3 separate regions of the Homo sapiens genome follow, and all the other regions are linked to region 3. The links are contacts of gene promoters, found by promoter capture Hi-C in blood cells and fetal thymus (Javierre and others, 2016). All regions are on one chromosome and are shown on one strand. The core of a region is centred on a gene start or on the middle of the fragment in contact, and the rest is flanking DNA. Distances in the headings are between cores, read along the strand shown. Region 1 overlaps SLC13A3 (solute carrier family 13 member 3). Region 2 overlaps ZNF334 (zinc finger protein 334). Region 3 holds the start of SLC2A10 (solute carrier family 2 member 10).

Region 1 (4,319 bases), core at 795-3,294, 140 kb after region 3:
TTAAAAAACACATAAATAACGATACAGACTTCAAAGGGAACAAAGGAATAGATGAGCAAAAGTACTGTTATTTGTCTCCATTTTAGGAATCGTGAGACACAGAGAGGTTAAGTAACTGGTTCTGGGTAACACAGCTCATTAGTAGCAGAGGTAAGATTTGAACTCATGTCTATCTGACTTATGCTATTGCCTCCTGCTGGGGGTGTCTTAGGGAAGGCTTCCTGAAGGAAGTGGCATGTTATCCAGATCTTGAAGAAGCTTGCAGTACGATGGAACCAGACCATCTGGATTGGAATCACAGATTTCCCACTTCTTAGGTGTATGATCTTTGTCAAGTTACTAAACCTCTCTGGGCCTCAGTTTCCTCATCTGTAAAATTGGAATCACAACGGCACCCACCTGGTAAAGTTGCCATGATCATTAAGTGAGTCAATATATGCAGAGAAATGAGAACACAGCCCAGCACAGTTGGTTATTATGGTTAGATACTGAGGAAAAGGAAAATCAAAATCAAGAATCATGTGGAGGTTCGTGGCTTGAGCAACTTGGTGGAAATGGTGCCATTTACCTCAGTGATCTGAGCCCAGCCTGGCCTAGAGGAAGGAGGCTGGATGAGATGACCCTGATCCAGAGGTTTCCCTAAGCTCCAGAAGTGGTGTGGGGAGCACTGGCTCTCAGTGGAGGCTGGGCTGCGGGACGCTGGGCATGCTGAGAGGCCACCCTGGCTCTGAGCCCAGCCCTGGGCAGCTGGCCGGAGTTTCTCTTCAACAGGGGCTTTGTGTAGTAGCTGTTCCTTTCCCCAGCCTCTGCCGTACCATCCTCTCCCCAGGCAGCCGCAGCCTGGCCCAGGAGCGACCAGAATGCTTATGGCACATCCTGGTTCCTGGCCCCTGCCCCACACTCTCATCAGAACACAGCCTGGCAGCCTCCTGAGGATCGGAGGTCCCTGGATGCAATCCAGGGTGAGCCTGGGTGTGTGGGCTCCCAGCGCTCATTCTGAAGGGCAGGAAGTAGTGCTTACTCTGAGCCTCAGCAACTCACTTAAGCCCACTTAGGGTCCTCACTACAGTTTTCTCCTGCCACAAAACCGTATAGTCATGACTCTGCATAGACTTAAAGTCAAGTCCAAGGTTTCCCTTGGCCAACACAGAAAGCTGTATGGGACAATGTAGGTCTCAACATTGGCACCTACCTCTCTTCCCTCCTAACACCCCTCCAGTCTCCTTGGCCCCTTCCTCAGCCACATCAGACTCACATGCACCCCACAGCCTTTGCATCTTCCCTTTCTCTGTTGAATTTTCATCCTGAGAGCTCTGAGTCCTCACTCTTCAGGTCTCAGTCCCTCAGAAATGCCCTCCCAAGCCCCCACATCTAGAATAGCCTCCCACCCCAGTCCCTCTTCCTCTCATGACCCTGCCTATTCCTATATACCACATCTACCCCCCAAATGATCCTGTGGGCATGTTTATTGATTGTGTCTCTTACTAGAATGGAAGCTCCATGAGGGCAGGCAGAGACCATGTCTGTCTTACCCACCACTGTTCTAGGCACCTAGAAGACACCGGGTGCGTAATGGTGCTTAACACATCATTGTTGCTATGACCTACAAGATGGGCTGCTTTGAGAATTGCTAACATAATGTATGGAAAGTACCCAGAAGAGTGGTGATATACCCTGGGTGCTCAAACCAGGAGCCACACTCATCTTCACTATTATTATTACTGTTATTATTGCATTAATTCATTGAGGAAAGGTTGATCTTATTCTGTTGCCACAACAAACTTACTTACAAATATGTTGCGGTGATAGAGGTAAGGAGAAAATGTGTATTCTCCCCATTCCTCATTTTCTGCCAGAAGTCTGTCATCTTTATTATTGACATAGTTTGGCTGTGTCCCCACCCAAATCTCATCCTGAATTGTGTAGTTCCCATTATCCCCACATGTCATGGGACCTGGTGGGAAGTAATTTAATCGTGGGGGCGGTTACCCTTATGCTGTTCTTGTGACAATGAGTGAGTTCTCAAGAGATCTGATGATTTTTTGTAAGGGGCTTTTCCCCCTTCTGCTCGGCACTTCTTGCTGCCACCATGTGAAGAAGGACGTGTTTGCTTCCACTTCCACCATGATTGTAAGTTTCCTAAGGCCTCCCCAGCCATGCTGAATTGTGAGTCAATTAAGCCTCTTTCCTTTATAAATTACCCACACCCGGGTATGTTTTTATTAGCAGAGCGAGAATGGACTAATACAATTATTATTACCCTCATTTTATCGGACAGACAAGCCTAATGACATGACTAAGATCCAGATTCTGAATCTTACTAGGGCACGTCATATTATTTATTTGGGCAAATCACTGAGCTTTTTTATGCTTCAGTTTCTTCAACCATAAAATGGAGATAATTGTACAGATGGTTCCTGACTTCACAACGATTCGACATACGATTTTTCAACTTTGCAATGGTGAAAGAGTGATATGCATTCAATAGAAAGGGTACTTAGAATCTTGAATTTTGATCTTTTCCCAGGCTGTGATATGTGGTGGGACACTCTCTTGTAGATGCTGAGCAATTATAAGGGTAAACAACAGATATTCTACAGTGTATAGCATTGCCAGATGATTTTGCCCAAATGTAGGCTAATGTCAGTGTCCTGAGCGCATTTAAGGTAGGCTGGGCTAAGTTATGATGTGAACAGGTAGGTTAGGTGTATTACATGCATTTTCTACTTCAATATTCTCAATTCGTGATGGGCTTATTGAGACATAACTCCACTGTAAGTCAAGGAGCATCTGTAGTCTGTATTCCATGAGGTTGCTATGAAGATTAAGTAATATTTACAAATTACTTAGAAGAGTGCCCAGCACAGAGTAAGCACTATGTTGCTTTGTTAAATTAAATGATAGATCATATTCAGTGCTTACTAAGTACAGAGAGTGTTTCGTGTGCACTTATTTAATCCTTACTGCAATCGCTTAAAGAAATCAAGGAACAGAGATGTTAATTAATTTGCCCAAAGTCACACAGCTTGTAAATGGTGCAGTGGTTTGAATGTTTATACATGTACATAAAGCCTTGTCTTTTTTCCTTCCTTTAATCAAATTCGCTGGTCTCTTTACCTAGGAATTATTATACAAAGTTGTATGCACACAGCCGAGCCCGTTGTGTTTTACAAAGCCTTTTAAAAGATTTTCAAGGGTATTTTGGCCACAGGAGTTTTTGACTTCAAATATTGAACTTATGCCATAACAAACCCCCTTATAAGATGCTCCTCTACTGTATATCAAAGACACCAAGAAGAGAGGACCTGGTTGAAGTAAGAAAACAGGAGGAAGAGGGAAACATCACTGTACCAACTCCATCTCCCCACCTCCCATTTTTGCAAGGTGGCCTTGGGTACTTCTGGTCATCTTCAAGGCCACTAAGGAACATAATTTGACAACCACTGTGCTGGGTGATTTCTGAGTTCCATCACTTCAGGCATCTTGTGACTTCATGCTACTGGTTATGGCAGGCGCTAACCAAGCGCCCAGCCACTTTCCTAGGCCCTTTATAGATTCACTCCTTTTCTCCCAACAATAACCTTCTGGGACAGGCACTATCATTATCCCTCGTTTACAGATAAGGAAATTTTAGCACAGAGAGGTTAAGTGACTTGCCTAGGAAGTTAAGTGACAGCTAGAAAAGATTAAGCTGGGAAGCAAACTCAGTCTGACTCCAGAGCCCCTTCTCTTCACCTTCTGGCCATGCCACCTCTGACCTTGGCTGTTGCTGGTCCCTGGAGTCCCTGGGAATACTGTGGGGCTGTGTGTTTCCAAGGAAACAAAGCTTCCAATTCCTAAGAATATGGGAAAGAGTCTGGGGCATGGTGGCTCATGTCTGTAATCCCAGCACTTTGGGAGGCCTAGGCAGGAGGATCGCTTAAGCCCAGAGGTTCAAACCAGCCTGGGCAACATAGTAAGACCCTGTCTCTACAAAAAAAAACACTTAAAAAAATTTAGCCAAACATGGTGTTGTGTGCCTGTAGCCTTAGCTACTCAGGACACTGAGGTGGGAGGCTTGCTTGAACCCAGGAGATAGAGGCTGCAGTGAGCTATAATTGTGTCACTGCACTCCAGCCTGGGTGACAATGTGAGGCTCTGTCTCAAAAAAATAAATAAAATAAAATGGGAAAGGGCAGGTGAAGTCCCTTTAGAGTCCCCAGTAGAACCCTACGCAACAGGCGTTTTCCTCTCTTAGGAAGCTGCCAGACCTCCCTCCAGCGCTGGAGCTGTGCCAAGGCCTGTGTGGCTGCGAGGATGCTGGCTGGAAGCCCGGTCAC
Region 2 (4,761 bases), core at 2,262-4,761, 200 kb after region 3:
CCCTTTGTGGTTTTAACTTGTGAGTCTTTATGCTCTGAGGTATTTCTGCCTCTGAGGACCTCAGCTTGAGATTCTTGCTGAACATCTCTGTAAGGATGTCCAGAAGGCACATGGAGTCCTCATATCCAACATGGAAATAATACTTACAACTTGCTCAATGTGCTGCTGCTTCTTTTTTCCCTATCAGTGCTGCTTCCATCTGACCAGCGAGACAAGCCAGAAAATGAAGGCCATCTTTTTTTTTTTTTTTTTTTGAAATGGGCTCTCACTCTATCACCCAGGCTGGAGTGCAGTGGCACGATCTCAGCTCACTGCAAACTCTGCCTCCCGGGTTCACACCATTCTCCTGCCTCAGCCTCCCAGGTTCACACCATTCTCCTGCCTCAGCCTCCCGAGTAGCTGGGACTACAGGCACCCGCCACCACGCCTGGCTAATTTTTTGTATTTTTTAGTAGAGACGGGGTTTCGCCATGTTAGCCAGGATGGTCTCAATCTCCTGACCTCGTGATCCTCCTGCCTCGGCCTCACTAAGTGCTGGGATTACAGGCGTGAGCCATCGCGCCCGGCCTGAAGTCCATCTTAATTCTCCTTTTCCTCACGTCCTACCATACCTGTTTGTCGAGCTTGCTAATGTTGTCACATAAACATTTCTTGAATTTGTCCTTTCACTTCCATCTCCTCCTCTCCTGCCTCAGTTTCTCGTGGGTTGTCATAATATTAGTAGCTTTCTCAGCAGTCTGCTTGGCCCCTTCCTCTTCCCACCTCAAGGCTGTTCTTCACACTGACCAATTCCTCCAAAATGCCAACGTGATCATGTCTTAATACAGAAATGACTTAAGAGGTTCCACGCCACTTGCAGAATACAAGTTCAGCATCCTTGGTATGACCTGTAAGGCTATGTATGTCATGACCGTTTCCTGCCTCTTCTCAGTTCCTACCACTCTGGACCTTTCATTCAACAACTGTATATTGATCAAACAATTGTGTGTGATACGCTATGCTAGATGGTCTACATTCAGCTTGAATGAAGGAGATACTGTCTCTGTCCTCATGGAGCTCATGTGCTAGTGAAAGAGAAAGATATTACACAAGCAATTCAAACTGTGCTGAGGTGGTTCTCAACTCTGCCAGACCCATATCTTTTTACAGAACATACTTTCTTAGGAGCTATATTGGGATGCAAACCTTCCATATTCTGCCATCCCCTTTATCTCTCTTAGTTAATGCCACCCACCCACACCAGGCTGCCTCCTGTTTTAGACTTGGATGAAACCACACACCATGAGGTGTGGTACCAGCTTCCTGAGGGGCCAGATGGTGGAGCCAGATGATGCAACCTGGAAGTGTGCGCAAGTTAACTCACCGTGGGTGAACCTTGAATGAAGGGAAATGGAAAATGAGAAGGAGGTGGGCAGATGAATTCCCCATCCTTTCTCTATTCTGTGCACTATTTCAAGGTTAGTTTCTCCTGGTGGTCCTCCCAGAGATGTCCCATGTGCTGACCCACGTGCTGACCCCATGCTCCTGCTGAGGAAACTTGCCCCTCTTTGGGGCTTGTAGTGAGTTGGTGGGCAGCATGCTAATGCCTCTCATATCTCATTGTTTACATCCTTTCTTTCCTCCCTTCCTTACTTCCCTCACCCTCACTACCCCGGCTTGGAGTTCCCAGATGGAATGATGCAGACCAAGTCCTTGCCTTAGGATCTGTTTTCTAGAAATCCCAACTAAAAGCCATCCTCCCTTTATCCTATTTTGGAGATCATAGATAATACAACTTACTTGTGTAATTTTTAAAAAAATCAATAGAACTCGAATATAGAGGAAAAATAAAAAAGTAATTAAAAATGATATGTATCTTAATATAGACTTGCCCAGATAAAACTATAGTAAAAGAAGAGGAGTCTGGTGTTTATACAGATTACTTTTAGGTTAAATTTCTATGAACGTGATAATTACAAGTTCTCACTGATATGGGACTGATGTGTCATGATTCAAATACTGTACATAGCATTGCCATTTGTGATATTTTTCAAGAGTGAAAATCCCTGAAGTTCCAGTTCAAATCAAATACAAATTGTGCTTGATGTATCCACTATTACATTGAAGAAAATTTAATATACATAAAAAATATATAAAAATACTATGTGTTCAAGTGCCAAATGGAATAAGGTTCTAGGCTCAGATCATTATAAACAGGATTTTTCGTTTATATGAATATTTAAGATTAGAAAGTTATACAGGACTTGGGACATTTCTTTCCTGTAGGAGAAGGTCCTGCATGTTGCAGTGTCTCTACCATCCTTCCTTCCCTCTCCTTCCACCAAATGCCAACAGCATCCCACAGAACCCTGACAGGCAAAAATGTCTCCGCAGATGTGCCACATGCCCCTGATGGAAGGGACCACCCACATTGAGCCCCTCTGAAGAACGATGGTGGTCTGCATTTAGTCTCCTGAACATGCCCCAAATTTTACACTCTTGCTTTTAACCGTGTTTCTACTGTTTGCTCCTTGACTTTCTACCCCTTTTCTGCCTACATTGTGAACATAGCCAGGAGCCATCTCGTCACAGGACCCATTCCTGTCCTCATATTCTTTGTCCACAGACTATGTGTTTACAGAGCAATGCTGGCCCTCTTCTTTGCATTACATGTAGGGTCTGGTCATTATCTGTCTACCTCACAAGTAAGACTATTAGCCTTTAAAGGTGTAGGCACATGTCCTCAGTAGCCATATCCCTGCTCATAGTAGTACTCATCATTTCTTTTTTTGGGTAATCTTGTTTTGTGTGAAATGGTGAACTCTCCTCTGCTCTGAATGGATCATCATTCTACTTACAGTATTGCTTGCAGAATGGACCTGAGTCACCGGGAGAATCGAGTTTCTTTTTCTTTTGTCATAAGCACCTTTCAGTTTCTCACAAAGTGAACACATTTCACTGTTCTTACTTTGGACTTTCTGCTATGAAGTGCACTGGGTCTGCCTGAGCAAGTACAGAACTTTCTAGTGAGGGCTCTTCCCTGGCACTCTTTCTCCCTGGCGTTTTGTTTCTAATATTTTTGCCAGTCATTCTTTCTAGTCATTAAGACCTTATATGTCTATTGTTGTGCCTATAATTATGAGATACTCTTTATCTTCAGGAAGCTTATAGGTCCTTCAGAGGAAGTAATTCATGGAAGAAATAAAATGGATAATGTAACTACTTCTGGTTTAAGAGACAGTTAAGTGGTGATAGCGGGAAAGGCCTCATTAAATTACCTAATAAAATTTGTCAGTAGAAAGATGTATAGCAGATCAAAGAAAAGAAAGACGGGTGACCTAGGATGGTCATGTGGGTGAGGTGAGACATACAGCAGGCCAAAGCCCAGGTGTCTGCAGAGGTGGAGGCAGCATGCCTATTTTTTACTGCTTTATTTTTAAATACGAAGAATGAGAAAAATCATACACAAAATACCTGTGTTTCCTTCACCTCGCTTCCCCTGATCTTTCAAAACTATATTATAGTGATCAGAACCAGGAAATTCACATGAATACAGTATTATTATCTATCGTATTCAAATTCTGCTTATTATTTTCCATAATATCCTTTTTCAGTTCAAGGATCCAACCTAGGAACCCAGGTTGTGTTAAATGTCCTGTCTCCTTAGCCTCTTGCAACCCACGATGGTCCTTCTTTGTCACTTACAACCTTGACACTTTGCTGGCTAGTTATTTTGCAGGGTTCATCCTAGCCTTTTCTTTATTTCCTTTCCCCTTCCCCTTCCCTTTCCCTTGTTTTTCCTTTGTTTTCTTTTCCTTGTCTTTCCTCCCTCCCTTCATTTCTCCTTTCTTTTCCTTTCCTCTTTCTTTTCTTTCTTTCCTTTTTACTTACTTAAGCTTATTTAACTTACTTAATTTTTGAAACTGGGTTTTGCTCTGTTACCCAGGCTGGAGTGCAGTGGTGCAATCATAGCTCACTAAAGTCTTGACCTCCTCAGCTCAAGCAATCCTCCTGCCTTAGCCTTCCAAGTAGCTGGGACTACAGGCATGTGCCACCACTCCTGGCAAAAAAAAAAAAATTTTTTTGAGAGATGGGGTCTCACTATGTTGCCTAGGCTGGTCTTGAACTCCTGAGTTCAAGCGATCCTCCCACCTCAGCCTCCCGAAGTGCTGTGATTACAGGCATGAGGCACCACGCCTGGCCTACCATAGTTCTAAGAATCAAAACCGTATAGAAAGATATTTTAGAGAAGTGTCACTCCTTCTCATCTCTTCTACTCTGTTCCCATCCGTCCATTCTTTCCGTCTGTCTCCACCTCTCCCCTGAATGTAACCAGTTTCATGAGTTTCTGGTGTATCCTTTCCATAATTTTTTTTCACATGTAGTGGTTACATGTGGGTTTTTTTGTTTTTTTGAGATGAGGTCTTGCACTGTCACCCAGGCTGCTGGAGTACAGTGGCACAATCTGAGCTCACTGCAACCTCTGACTCCCAGACTCAAGTGATCCTCTTGCCTCAGCCACCCGAGTAGCACATGCCACCATGCCTGGCTAATTTTTTTTTATTTTTTTGTAGAGATGGGGTTTTGCCGTGTTGCCCAGACTGATCTTGAGCTTCTGAGCTCCAGCGATCAGCCTACCTCAACCTCTCAGAGTGCTGGGATTATAGGTGTGCGCCACCACACCTGGCCATGTGTGTTTTCTTACATCTCCTTTCTTACATAAAAGGTAATATATTATAGATATTCTTTAATACTTTGCTTTTTTCACTTCATATCAGTTCA
Region 3 (4,127 bases), core at 743-3,242:
ACACCCAGCCCTCGCTCTGCCCATAGAAGGCACTCAGCAAATGGCTGTTGGGTTGATTTAGCAGGAATAGGAGGTGCAGGAACAAGGGGCTAGGGCTAAGCTGAGTGTCCTTAAGAAGACCTTGACCTCTCTGGGCCTCATTTTTTTCTCAGGCTCTGGGGCACTGTGCTGTGGGGGTTAAGAGGATGGACTCTCCTGTCAGAGCCGGAACTGGTCACCAGTTTTACCATTAATCCACCATGACAGGCCACGTGGTGCAGTGGTTAGGAATGCAGACTGGAGTCAGAATGCTGGGGCTCCTTCCCAGCTTCTCCTCTCCATAGCTGTGTGACCTTGGGGAACTCACCTCACCTCTCTGGGCTTCCCCATCTACAAATGGGATATTAATGCCTACCTTCTATGCTTACCTACATCATAGCCAGTGTTAGCGACTGTGATTCTCCACAGAACGACTCAGAGCAAACTTTGAGAAGTTAATTCAGGGCCGGGCGCGGAGGCTCACGCCTGTAATCCCAAGCCGAGGCAGCCGGATCACGAGGTCAGGAGATCAAGACATCCTGGCCAACATGGTGAAACCCACTCTCTACTAAAAATACAAAAATTAGCTGGGCGTGGTGGTGTATGCCTGTAATCCCAGCTACTTGGGAGGCTGAGGCAGGAGAATTGCTTGAACCAGGGAGCTGGAGGTTGCAGTGAGCGGGATCACGCCACTGCACTCCAGCCTGGCGACAGAGTGATCATCTCAAAAAAAAGAAAAAAAAAAGAAAAGATAATTCAGGTCACGGCCCCGCTCCAGCTTAAAACCCTTCTCCAGCTTGCCGTGGCATTTGCAATAAAATCTGAACTTCTCACCACGGCTTACAAAGCCCTGCACACCTCTCTGCCATCCCTTTGACCTCAGTGCCCTGCCCGCTGTGCTCTGGCCATCCTGGCCTGGGCCACACAAACTCATTCCTGCCTGAGGGCCTTTGCACTGTTGCTGCCACCTGGAAGCTCTTTCTCCAGATCTCAGCAAGACCCGCTTCTGAGGAAGTTCTCAGCTCCAAAACGTCCTACTCCAGAAAACCCACCCTGACCACCTACCCAAGGAACCCACGCCCTTGGCCTTCACGCCACCCCATTTTATGGGTTCCACAACACCTTATCTCTCTCTGAAGTTATTCATAAACGTGTTTACCCAGCTGCTCAATCAGAATGCCACCTCCATGAGAGAGAGGTTTATTGTCTATTTTGTTCATTGCTGAAGCTCTAACCCCTATATCAATGTCTGGCACGTAGTAGGTGCTCACTCAAGAATCAACGACTGATCCTTCGAGGCTTCTGAATGCAGAGAGAAAAATAGAGCCCTAGTCCCGAGTGGCAACAAAGCCATTCCCCACGCGTCCCACCCCAATGCTGTGTTAGAATCTCCTTCTCTGTCCCCTCTCTGCAGAATCACGTCCAGAGGAGGGGGTTCGTCTGTTTTGTTCGCAGTTTCGTTCGCGACAGCGTCCCCAGGCCCACAACAGCGCCTGGGGCACAACCGCGCTCAGCGAATCGATGAACTGCTTTGCTTCTTTCGGAGCCTCCATTTCTTCATCTGCAGACCAGGAACAGCTGCACTTGCCTGGGGCTGTCGGATCAGGGCGCCCGGGAGAGTGCCTGGGCCCGAGTGGGCGCTGCAGCAAGTGAGGGGCCACTTTTCCGGGGCAGAAAGGAAGATGGAAGGAAGCGCGACCGAGCCCCGTCCCAGCCCCCGCCGCAGGCCTGCAGTCTCGGGCTGGCCACCCGAGAGGCGGTATCCGGCCGGGGCGGCCCTGGGGGAGCCAGGGGGCGCGCACTCTTAGGGGAGCGTGGGGGCGGTGTCTACACCCTGGGAAGGGGTCGGGCTTCCAGCAGGCAGCGCCCGATCGGGACTTACCCATGGCGAGCGGGACTCGGCGGCGTGCTGGGGGCGCTGAGGGGCCGGGCGCGCATCCCCCGCCGGAGTCCCCAACGCCGCTGCCGCCGGACAAACTTTCCGGCCCGCCCCCGCCTCTGTCCCTCCTGCCCTGCCCTCCCGCGCGCAGCGCCGCCAACGCCACGTCGGCCAGCCAGGCCCCGAGGCCTGGAGGCGGGACGGAGGGGAGCCCAGGACCGCCCCCGGCCGCCCCAGGCCTGGCAAGGACCCCCTCCCTCGCCCACTGTCCTCCCGGGGGCCCCCACCCGCCATCTCCCGGGTCCCCTTCGTTGGTAGTCCTCCCCTGGGGGGGACACACCAGCAAGCCATCCTCCCTGGTAGAAGACCCCACACGCACTGTCTTCCCCTGGCCTCTTTGCAGGGAAGAGGTGCCCCAATCACTGGTCCACACTTGTCTGGCCTCCCCAGCGTGCGCACACACACAACACACACAACACACACATCTACACCGAGTGAGACACTCGCGCATACCCACTGGAGCCGCTCACTCTCTCATGGATTCATCCCTCATTCACTCCACGCTTGGGTTTGGACACCACCACATACCAGGCACTACGCTAGGCTTGGGATGGGCCGAAGAACAAAACAGAACAGGTCTTTTGTTTACCTTCTAGGAGGGGAAGAGTTTACATTCTAGGAGGGGAAGACGAAAAAGAAGTAACTAAAGGATCCTGAGAAATATCAGCTAGTGATAAAGACTAGGCAGAAAGTTAAACTACGGTGGTGGGTTAGGCAGACACAGGTGGCTGCTTTAGCTTGCTGATCTGAGAAGAGGATATCTGAGCAGAGATCCGGCATTCCCCGCAGGGGGAACAGCAAAGGCAAAGGCCCCGGGGTGGGAAGGAGCTTATGGGGTACAAAAAACGCAGAAATGAAGCCAGAGTGTCTGGAGCAGAGGAGAAGACAGGGAGAGAGGAGGGAGATGGGAGCTAAGGGAGGGGCTTTGGTGGGCCAGGGTCAGGAATGTAGATTTCAACCCCATCAGCAGGACAGATAACTGGGGAGTTCTAACTGGTTAAGGGCCAGAATACTCAGCCTTCCCACCTGGGAGGCTGTTGCAAGGTGAGAAGTTGGTTTGGGCTCATGTCACTGTGGTGAGGTTGGAGAAAAGTAGGCAGATCACATATATATGCTCCGTAAGAACTTACAGACTGGAAGAGGGGCAGCTTGTGGCTGGGAAAGGAGATCCAGAGTTCTGTCTTGGCTGTGTGACATTTGAGGTGCTCAGCAGGCATCCACGTGGAAATAGGTGGGCAGTTGGCTATGAGCCTGGGATTCAGGAAAGGGGTAGGCTGGGGACACTGCCACTAATGCTCACTCAGGCAAAAATGCACGTACAAGCCCAGCACTCACATGGGCGCAGCCTTATCCAGCCTCTCAATACGTGTTCACAGATAGGCACCTTTGCATGTGCACCAGTGGCTGTACCCTCACCAGTCAAAGTCACAGCGACCCCTACCGTACAGGTGGATACACAGGCATTCTTCCATGCTGAAGGCACAAGCAGGTATCTCAGCAAAGATGACAGCATCCATAAGACCTCTGAACCAGGGGATCCTTGCACAGTTTCAAAAATAATAATAGCTGGGGCAGTTTGAAAACATGGCTCCAGAATTCGTTGTTCCTTCCCTTGAAATAAAAGTGGGCTTGTGACTGGTTTGATCAGTAGCCTGCAGAGTGACACTGTGTAACTTCTGAGGCTGGGTCACTGGAATACTGGTGCCTGGATCCCTGAGCCTTCATATAAAAAGTCTGATTACACTGAGACCCTCCTGGTATTCGTGGCCTAGTGGCATCCTCTTCTCTTCTAGATGTCACTAGAAGTATCACTTAGCAACGTCTAATGAATAGAAGACGGCAAATATGGTGGATGTCATTTTCGGATTAGGTTATAAATGATTTCTGTGTTGTTCAGTTTCGAGATCTCTCACTTGTTTGCTCTGATGAAGCAATTGAGCTGCCATGTTTTGAGCTTCCCAATGGAGAGGCCCACATGGAGCGAAGCTATTGAATCACATAGCTAATGCCTCCAGGCAATAACCAGTGAGGGACTAAAGCCCTTAAATCAACAGCCCCTAAGGAGCTAAATCTGGCCAACAAGCTTGTGGTGAGCTTGGACGTGAATCTTCCCTCAGCCTAGCCTGGAGGTGACTCTAGTCCTGGCTGACACCTTGATTTCAACCTTGCA

Evidence for each region. The method cuts DNA at HindIII sites, captures the fragments that hold promoters and counts their contacts. A CHiCAGO score of 5 or more calls a contact.
Region 1: a fragment that was not itself captured here is called in contact with the fragment with the promoter of SLC2A10 in region 3 in 1 of 17 cell types (megakaryocytes); the score reaches 5.2 in megakaryocytes.
Region 2: a contact is called between a fragment that was not itself captured here and the fragment with the promoter of SLC2A10 in region 3, in 1 of 17 cell types (megakaryocytes). The highest score is 6.1, in megakaryocytes.

Annotation. Positions count from the first base shown.
Region 1 is chr20:46,568,827-46,573,145 of GRCh38, reverse strand. All of the region lies in intron 10 of SLC13A3 (solute carrier family 13 member 3), which reads left to right. Among named protein-coding and RNA genes, the nearest start is that of OCSTAMP, 20 kb to the right of the region's middle. RefSeq lists an enhancer at 4,273-4,319. The HindIII fragment of the contact is 3,568 bases long and covers 261-3,828 here.
Region 2 is chr20:46,506,251-46,511,011 of GRCh38, reverse strand. The region is part of intron 2 of ZNF334 (zinc finger protein 334); the gene reads left to right. Among named protein-coding and RNA genes, the nearest start is that of ZNF334, 4.9 kb to the left of the region's middle. The HindIII fragment of the contact is 732 bases long and covers 3,146-3,877 here.
Region 3 is chr20:46,707,514-46,711,640 of GRCh38, reverse strand. It overlaps SLC2A10 (solute carrier family 2 member 10), which reads right to left and starts at 1,992. Exons shown (of 5, transcript NM_030777.4): 1 at 1,901-1,992. The coding sequence starts at 1,904. The HindIII fragment of the contact is 5,872 bases long and covers 1-4,042 here.